Regions from separate parts of the Homo sapiens genome. Here regions 1 and 3 are each linked to region 2. Evidence: promoter capture Hi-C in human tissues and cell types (Jung and others, 2019). All regions are on one chromosome and are shown on one strand. Each heading gives the region's core, a stretch centred on a gene start or on the middle of the fragment in contact. The rest is flanking DNA. Distances are from core to core; before and after follow the strand shown.

What was found. Contacts are between HindIII fragments. The study calls those that stand out against the background at their distance.
Region 1: a contact is called between a fragment that was not itself captured here and the fragment with the promoter of AUTS2 in region 2, in 1 of the 25 tissues and cell types used here (dorsolateral prefrontal cortex).
Region 3: a contact is called between a fragment that was not itself captured here and the fragment with the promoter of AUTS2 in region 2, in 1 of the 25 tissues and cell types used here (lymphoblastoid cells).

Annotation. Positions count from the first base shown.
Region 1 is chr7:69,911,489-69,914,188 of GRCh38, reverse strand. All of the region lies in intron 2 of AUTS2 (activator of transcription and developmental regulator AUTS2), which reads right to left. Among named protein-coding and RNA genes, the nearest start is that of AUTS2, 310 kb to the right of the region's middle. The HindIII fragment of the contact is 4,625 bases long and covers 1-2,700 here.
Region 2 is chr7:69,597,140-69,599,839 of GRCh38, reverse strand. AUTS2 (activator of transcription and developmental regulator AUTS2) reads right to left here and starts at 1,365. Exons shown (of 19, transcript NM_015570.4): 1 at 1-1,365. The coding sequence starts at 186. It overlaps CT66 (cancer/testis associated transcript 66), which reads left to right and starts at 2,216. Exons shown (of 3, transcript NR_148927.1): 1 at 2,216-2,700. RefSeq lists silencers at 52-121, 1,286-1,365, 1,386-1,805 and enhancers at 886-935, 2,116-2,195. The HindIII fragment of the contact is 7,960 bases long and covers 1-2,700 here.
Region 3 is chr7:70,059,248-70,061,947 of GRCh38, reverse strand. All of the region lies in intron 2 of AUTS2 (activator of transcription and developmental regulator AUTS2), which reads right to left. Among named protein-coding and RNA genes, the nearest start is that of AUTS2, 460 kb to the right of the region's middle. The HindIII fragment of the contact is 5,023 bases long and covers 1-2,700 here.

The DNA.
Region 1 (2,700 bases), core at 171-2,670, 310 kb before region 2:
ACACTGTGGTGGAGGTGATATCTCTCCTCAGTAGAGCTTGGAGTGCAGCAGAAGGTGCAGACATAAGGAAGGACATAGAAAGAAAAATCTATAATTATAAATGTGGTGTTAGGAAGTTAAAAAGGTGAGTGCAAAACACAGAAGACAAATGGCAGATCCTGAGTTAAATAAACCATATGGTCGAGAAAAGCCCCTATGAAAGATGACATTTCAGTTCAAGCCTAAAGGACTAGAAGGATCTCATCATTCAAAAAACAGAGGGGGAACCATTTCTTCCAAAGAGGATAGCATAAGGTGTCCAGGGTACGAAGGAACTTGGCATGTGGGAGGGAATGGAAGGTCGGGAGCTGGAGCCAGTAAGCAAGGGAAGCATGACATGAAGCTGAAGAAACAGCACTGGATAACTGGGCACTGCAGATGATGGGAGTCTGATTTTCAATCTGAATACCCTGAGAAGCAGTTGAGAGGATTTACTTGTGGGAATAATATGATCATATGTATATTTTTAAAAGATCACTCTGGCTAGCATATGGAGAAAAGACTGGAAAGAGACATGAATGGAAACTATAAATATGAGAAGGGTATCCTCGAGTAAAGGATAGCAGTGGTTTTAAGGGTGTTGTTTCCCAATATGTGACATAAGCCTAGGCCCCTTGCTGTGTCACACAGTGAGGTCCTCGAGGAGCTCAACATTTCAGTGGAAAGAAGAAAATGTATACCTCCAACTCAAAACAGAGTATGGTATGAAAAAGGCCAAAAGTGAATTACAGAGTGACTATATATCCCAGTTTTTCAGGAAGTCCTGATTAATGCTTATTGTTCCAAGGTAATTATTAATGGTTCCCCCTTTCATTCCCAGTAATGTCCTAAATTAGCTGATAAATTCTGGGGTGACCCTTGTTATAAACAAAGGATCATAAGAGTTGGGAAGACAATGCAATTACTTACAAGGAAAAAGATCATAAAAACTTCAAGGAAGAAGTGGGTCTGAACTAGTCAATGGAAGACAAATATGTCAAAAAAGAATATTCTAAACAAAGAAAATAGCCAAAGCACAGGCACAGGAATGTGGAGAAAACACAGGGTTCATCCAAATAGCAGTTGTAGTTGCAGCTTGGTGTTTACAGAGAGTGGGAAAGGCAACTGGGAAGGTACATTGCAGCAGGATTAGTCAGGGCCTAAAATGTCCTATACTAAGAGGCTTCAATCTTATTTAGATGGCTGTGGATGGTCACTGAAATTTTTTAAACCAGAGTACAATAGCAATGAGCTAAATAATGCTGCACTAATCTAGAGATGATAAATCTAAAAGTTTACCGAAAAGAACCAGCACAGTAAAAGGAACAAGGAAACAGGAAGCAAAGGCATTTTGTGACTCTGAGAGCAGATCTAAGTGATGTCCCATGCAATCCTGGCTGGGTCAAGAAGCTAGCAAAAGACACTGGGTGGAAGGAGGGAGTAAAATGAAAGCCAAAGAGCTGAAGGTAGGCTCAAGGACAGAGATGAAAGGAGAAATATGGGTCTGCTCAGTTTGAAAGGGGGAAGAGAAGAGCAGGGGCAGAATGACCATGAAAACGGTTTTTAAACTCCATATTCTTTCCTTCTAATACTGTACTATGTCAATTTGTCTCCTTAGTCTATCTGGAGAACCATGGGGCAGCCCTAATATACTCCCTACATGGTCCCAGTGATGGCAGTGGCAGCCTGTCTGGAGCAGCCGCTGCCAAGATGCTGGCTGCAGCCGGGGCTGTATGCTCTGAGGAGCCGGCTGGGGCCAGGAACAGGCAGGAGCCCCACCCTCCACTGAGTTGGCAGAGAGGGAGATTCATGCTCCTGGGCACACATGCAGCTGCCCAGCTGTGGCTCCAGACCCAGGCATCCCTGAGCTCTCAGGCGCCTGGGGAAGTGCCCCTGCCCGAGCAGTCTTGGAAGTGCCTACTCTCGCTACCTGGCCTCTCCCCATACCTGGCTTCTCCCCATACCTGGAGCCCACTCTGATTTCAGAGGAAAATTGAGGCTAAGCCTGAGTGCTGTCACAACCTGGCCAGGCATGCATGCACTCGGGTGGCATTGACACGCCAGCCCCCTGCCACCTCAGCACCCCCTCCAGATTTTGGGCACCCATGAGCACAAGAGGGAGGCCAAGGTAGGACTGAAGGTGGCTCAGCGTGGGCCTACAGGTGTCCCTTGGCATCAACAGCCTGAGTGCCATGGATGGCACATTGATGGTGGGAGGCAGACAGGTTTCAGGGCAGAAAGGGACAGGTCCCCAGTGAAATTCCACCTTCAAGCCAGGGACAACCTGAAGCCTAGCGGCCAGGGTGCCAGTTCCCGGTGGAGTCTGCCGCCCAGAGTGAAGACTTCATTGATGACCATTTGGCCAATCGGATGGTGCTTTTTCCAGGCCTGCCCATGGACCAATCAACATGTACTTCTTCCCTTCTAAGCACATAAAAACCCGAGACTCAGCCAGGCTCAAACAGACATCGGACTACCAGCTGCAGAAAGGAGCTACCACTGCGGCTCGCCTCTCCACTGAGAGCTGGACACTCATAGGGATGACCTGCCTGTGGAAAGGAGTTACCCACTTGAGGTCTCCTGGGAGCTGTTCTGTGGATCAAATAAAGCTCCTCTCTGCCTTGCTCACACTCCAGTTGTCTGCTGTACCTCATTCTTCCTAGGCATGGGACATGAACTCGA
Region 2 (2,700 bases), core at 116-2,615:
GGGCTTCCCATTGTCTTCCTTGTCGGAGCCCGACGACGAGGCGAGTGAGAGCGCCCGGGTCCGGCCAGCCCCGCCGCCGCCGGCCGCGCCGGCCCCCAGCCCGCCCCGGGAGCGCCTCTCCCGGTCTCGCTGCGACCGCGACCGCCGCTTTTTGCGGAGTCCATGGCCCCGCGTCGGGCCATCCATGGTTCTGCTGCGCCGGGGTCTCCCCGCTTGCCCGCCACAGGCTACGGCCGCAGCCACACAAAAAAAAATTGACACCGAGCCCTCCCTCCCCCTTCACGGCTTCCCTCCGCCCCGAGGAGGGCGCGGGGGAGACGGCGGCCGAAAGAAGGGAGAGAGGGGAAGAAAGAGAGGAGAAAGAAAAGGGGGAAGGGGCGGAGAGAGGGGAGGAGGGACGGGGAGCGAGGGCGAGAGGCGAGGAGCCCAAGTGTGGGGCTCCCCACAGCACCGAGGGTCGGAGATGCCTGGGAGCAGCGCCGAGCAAAGTAATGGCTGAACACACAGGTCTCCTTTAGAGGAAAAAAAAATAACTCACCAAGCAAGCAATAAATCAGAATAGCGGAATGCTTTGATCAAGAGACTGGGAGGCTCCGGGGAGCCCTCCCCGCGGCCATTCTCCGCCGCGCCCCCCGCCCCCCGAAAACGCCCGCGCCCCCCTCAACTCGATCCAAAATCGGGTCCGAAAAAGGTCGCGGGAAAAGTGGGGGCAATGAACTTCACCCGCCCCTCGCGCAGGAAAACACCCCCGCCGCCTCTCACACACGCCTCGGAGAAAACTCACTCCCAGGCTCCCAAATTTTTAAGAAATGCAGCCAGGGGAGGCCGGGGCTCCGGAGCGACCCAAGAGGGGCGAGACCCCCCAGAGAGGGGAGCATAATAATGCAATCATTAGCGGAAGAGAGGGCGAAACTGCGAGCGGCGGAGGAGAAGGGAGGCGGAGGAAGGGAAGGAGGATGCTGCTGGAGCAGTTGTGGGGTTTGCTTTTCGGTCTTCGAGGGGGGAGGAGAGGGAGATGAAAGAAGAGAAGAAGCAAACCCTGTCGCTGCCACCCGCCCCCCTCCTCACAAAAATATTTTTTCCAGTCCCAGAGAAGAGGTCACCCTTCCTCAAAAAAGGGAGGGGGTGAGTCAGTCAGTCGATGAGGAAAGCAGAAAGAAATCTCCAGCGGGAGAGACACCGGTGTGCCGCCGCCGCCGCCGCCGCTTCTCTCGCCGCCCCGCCTGAGGGAGAAGCGCAGCCGGGAACGCTGCTCTCGCCGCCGCCGCTAACGCTGCTGCTGCTGCCGCCGCCGCCGCCGAGAAAGCCCCGAGCCGGAGGGTGCACGGCGTGTCCCCGGGCGGCTGCAGCGGGAGCCCGGGCACTGCCCCATCCTCCGCCCGCCCGCCTGCCTCGCGCAGCTCCCGCTCCTCCCCCTCCGCGGCCAGCCCACCGCCGCCGCCGCCGCCGCCGCCCGCCTCAGCCCAACCCCGCGCCCGCCCGCTCGCTCGCTCGCTCGCTCGCTCGTTCGTGCTTTCGCTCGCTCGCTCGAGTGCGCGCGCTCCCGCGCACCCGCCCTCCCCGCGCCTCTCTCGGCGCGCGCTCCCGCCCCCGCGGCCCCGGCCGGCGGGATCACGTGGACGGCTGGGCTCCCTCCTCCCCCGCCCCCTCCCCAGTTGTAGAGTGTGTAGAAAGCAAAAGGCTGGGGGCTGGCCGCGCTCGCGAGCCCAGGGCATGCGCGCTGGGGCGGCCGGGCCTGCGCACTGGGGGCGGTGGGGAGCTGTGAGGGGGGCGGGGGCGGGGGCGTGGAGGGGGCGCCCGCGTGGGGTCGGCCGCGGCCGGGCAGAGTTGGCGCGCCAGGGCGTGGAAGCCGCCGGAGGATCCCGCCTGTCGCAGCGGGGACGCGTGTGGGCCCCTGCTCCCAGGCCACTTCGCGCGCGCGCCCCCCACATCCTCCTCGGGACACTTGTCCCTGGATCCTCTACCCCTGGCCGGCCCGAGGCCGCCTTCTCGGGAAGCCCCACCAGCCCCCAAGGGTGTTTTCCCTTGGCTACCTGCGCTGCGAGGAGAGAAGGGAATTCAGAGAAGGGGTACAAGGGGGGCGTCCCTGGGAGGGGGCGCGACTGGAGGAGACAGAACGGGGAGCGGGTGCCAAAGCGCGGGCCTTTGCTCCGCCTGGGCGCAGTGGGAGCACCAACTGGCAGAGTTGGAAACTTTTCCTCCACGTGGCACCACAGTGCGTGGACGAGCGACCCCGCGCCCGGATGACCCCTGGGATTCCCGCCTCGTCTTCCAGCGGGGGACCTAGGGACGCACGGGCGGCTTCAGATCCGGGAGCGCGAGGCCTAACAGCCGGGGGCCGAACTTGAACCTCGGAGGCGGCCGCGGGCGAGGGGCGGGGCCGAAGGGGCCGGGACCGCCGCCCCAGCTCGAGGACCCGTTAGACCGGCAAACCGCAGTCCCTGCCCCGCGGGCTTCCTTTACTTTTTGGGAGTGGGGGGCGGTTTCCCTGCTTTTTCCACCACAGCCCCTCCTCCCGCCGCAATGTGGCTGATGCTCATAAAAAGTTGTATTAAAGAGCTGACTGCAGCCGAGAATCGATCAACAAAAGCGACCAGCCTCTCTGGGTAAAATAGCTGTGCGTTTTTCAGGGCACTGGAATTGATCTATACGGATCAGAAAGACCGACAGCCCGCTCTCAGCAGCCTCTTGGATACGCTT
Region 3 (2,700 bases), core at 101-2,600, 460 kb before region 2:
GGCATGGTGGCGGGAGCCTGTAATCTCAGCTACTCGGGAGGCTGAGGTGGGAGAATTGCTTGAACCCGGGAGGCAGAGGTTCCAGTGACCTGAGATCACGCCATTGCAGTCCAGCCTGGGCAACAAGAGTGAAACTCCGTCTCCGGGGGAGCAAAAAAAAAAAAAAGAAGAAATAACCCTTAAATTCCACCCACAAGCCTGCCCCAAGTTAAGTTCACCAAATAAATAGTTAATCCATTGTGAAGTTTCTTTTGCCAAACCATGATATTAAAAGTTATTAAGTATCTCATGTCTATATAGTACTTAGCAGAGTACTACCATAAGTATCTTTTATTATTTATGTTACAGTAACATTTTTTCAACCTATTATTATTAGGAAAGCTACCAACAGTCAAGGGATAATGCCATTTGGAAACATAATGACCTATTTGCTTTATTTATTGTGGTCATGTTGCCCCATTCTCTTCCTCTCTCTTAAAATTTTAATAGGAAGCTTTAATTAACTTAATATTTTAATACAAACCTAGCACCTCTTATTCCCTCCTTGAGAGGAAAATTAAAATACTAACCTGTTAAAACTTAAGGAAAGAAAACACCAGAATCAGGAATGCGGCTGTTTTCCTCTTGGGGACTGAGGAACTACCATTTACTGAGCACCTTCCATGTATGCCAGGCAGGCTACTAGGGACTTCACAGACATGATTTCACTTTGCATCACACCATTTCCAGAAAGTACTGTCTCCATTTCGCACATAAACAAGAATCTATTATTTCCAATATCAAACTCCTCTCAACACGAACCAGAATGAACCCTTGAGAGGTCACCTAGTTTGACCATCTGTCTCTAATTAAGTGCTAGAGCCAGATAAAATTCAGAAAGAACCTACAGATTTATCCCAGTCCTCATTTTACCGCTGAAAATAAATAAGGCATAGAGATACCAAGAGACAGGCCTAGGGTCACAGGGTTTGTTAAGAGAACTCCAGAGAAACAGAAAAAGCTGGTTTCCTGCCATTCCTGTTCTGCTTCCTTCACTGGACCAGGCAGGCTCCACCTGGATGCAGGAAGGAAGAAATACCTACCTCAGTCAGGGAGGCTGGGGAATGCAGCAGAGGGAGCAGAGAGGTGGGTGCTGCCTTAGCCCCACCGCTGCCTTCTGGGAGACAAACAACATACCTGCATGGCCTAGCACGATTTAAAGAGGTCAGAGTATAGAGTCAAAGACACCTTCCATGCCGGAAGTTTTGCAATGCTACTTCTTAAACCATTCTTTTCTGCTCATCTATATAGTAAGATATTGTAATATTATACTTCCTAGGGTTGACATAAAAGATTACATAAGCTGTATCTGTAAAATGTGCATTACAAAGTAAGTGTTGAATTAACAGTAACTGTTAGTACAATTTCTCACCTCTTTTCTGCAGTAAGTCTTAACATCCCCCTCCCTTGATCAGTGGTTTAGATTAGTCTTTCTCGCTTACAACACAGATTGCCAGCCCCGCCCACAGGACTTCTGGGGTAGAGTCTAACAATCTGCATTTCTAATAAATTCCCAAGTAAAGCTGAGGCTGCTATACTTTTGCTTTGACAGCTTTCTCCTCTATTTTAAAATCTCCCCATTCTGAGAAGCACAGCTTCCTGTTCACTTAGTTGCCCTTATACAATGTTCTTCTCTTTATCTAGCATTTCTTTAAGTGAAATTTAAAGCTGTTCAGCTCAAATGAAAGAGATGAAGCATACCAAAGAAAGAGTGTACAAAAACTTTTTAAAAAATTTAACCCTTTGTTCAATGTTATTAAAACCTATGGTCCCTAAATGTCAAAAAGGATGGTTTTATGCTGTGTAGAATTTTACTTTTATATAGGAAATGACCTTGAATATCAGAACAGAAGACACTGTACTGAAATGCTTTTCTTTCTCATTATAAGAAAATCTAATTAACTTGCACCACCTGTAGAAAAAATTTAGTCTAAAGTGGTGAACAATTAAACTGTAAAAAGTACTGTTTAATAAATGTCAACTTGTTAATTTTAAGTCAATTATTTGGAACTAGGCAAGGTCAAGCAGCTATTTGGAACTAAGCGAGCTTGACTAGCTGCTTAAATAAATGAGTGACATTACTTATCACTTCCTACCTCAAAAATCTGCCATGGGTTCCTATGGCCTCACTAAGGAAGCCTATCTTCTTTAGCCTAGCATCGAAGGCATCGAAAACATAACACCGTGTTCCTACATTTACCATGAACTCCAATCAAACAGAAAATCACATACTGTGCCAGCCACAGTACGATGTACCTCCTCCAATCTATGTGTCCAAATCAGCGCATCCTTTAAGGCCCTACTCAGATGGCACCTCTTTCATACAGAATTTCCAGATCCTCGATTCTCATATGACTCTTGCAATAGCTCTGTAATATTGATAAATCTGAAATTTAAAAAAAGTAACCAATGTGAATGTTAAGATCTCCACACAGAAATCTGCGCATAAATGTTTACAGTAGCTTTTTCCCATAATTGACAAAACTTGGAAGCAACCAAGATTAGGTGAATGGAAAAATAAACTGTGGAACATCCAGGCAATGTACTACTCAGTGCTAAGAAGAAATGAGCTATTAAGCCATTAAAAGACACGGAGGACCTTAAATGTATAATAACTAAGTGAAAGAAGCCAATCTGAAAGGCTACATATATATAGTATGA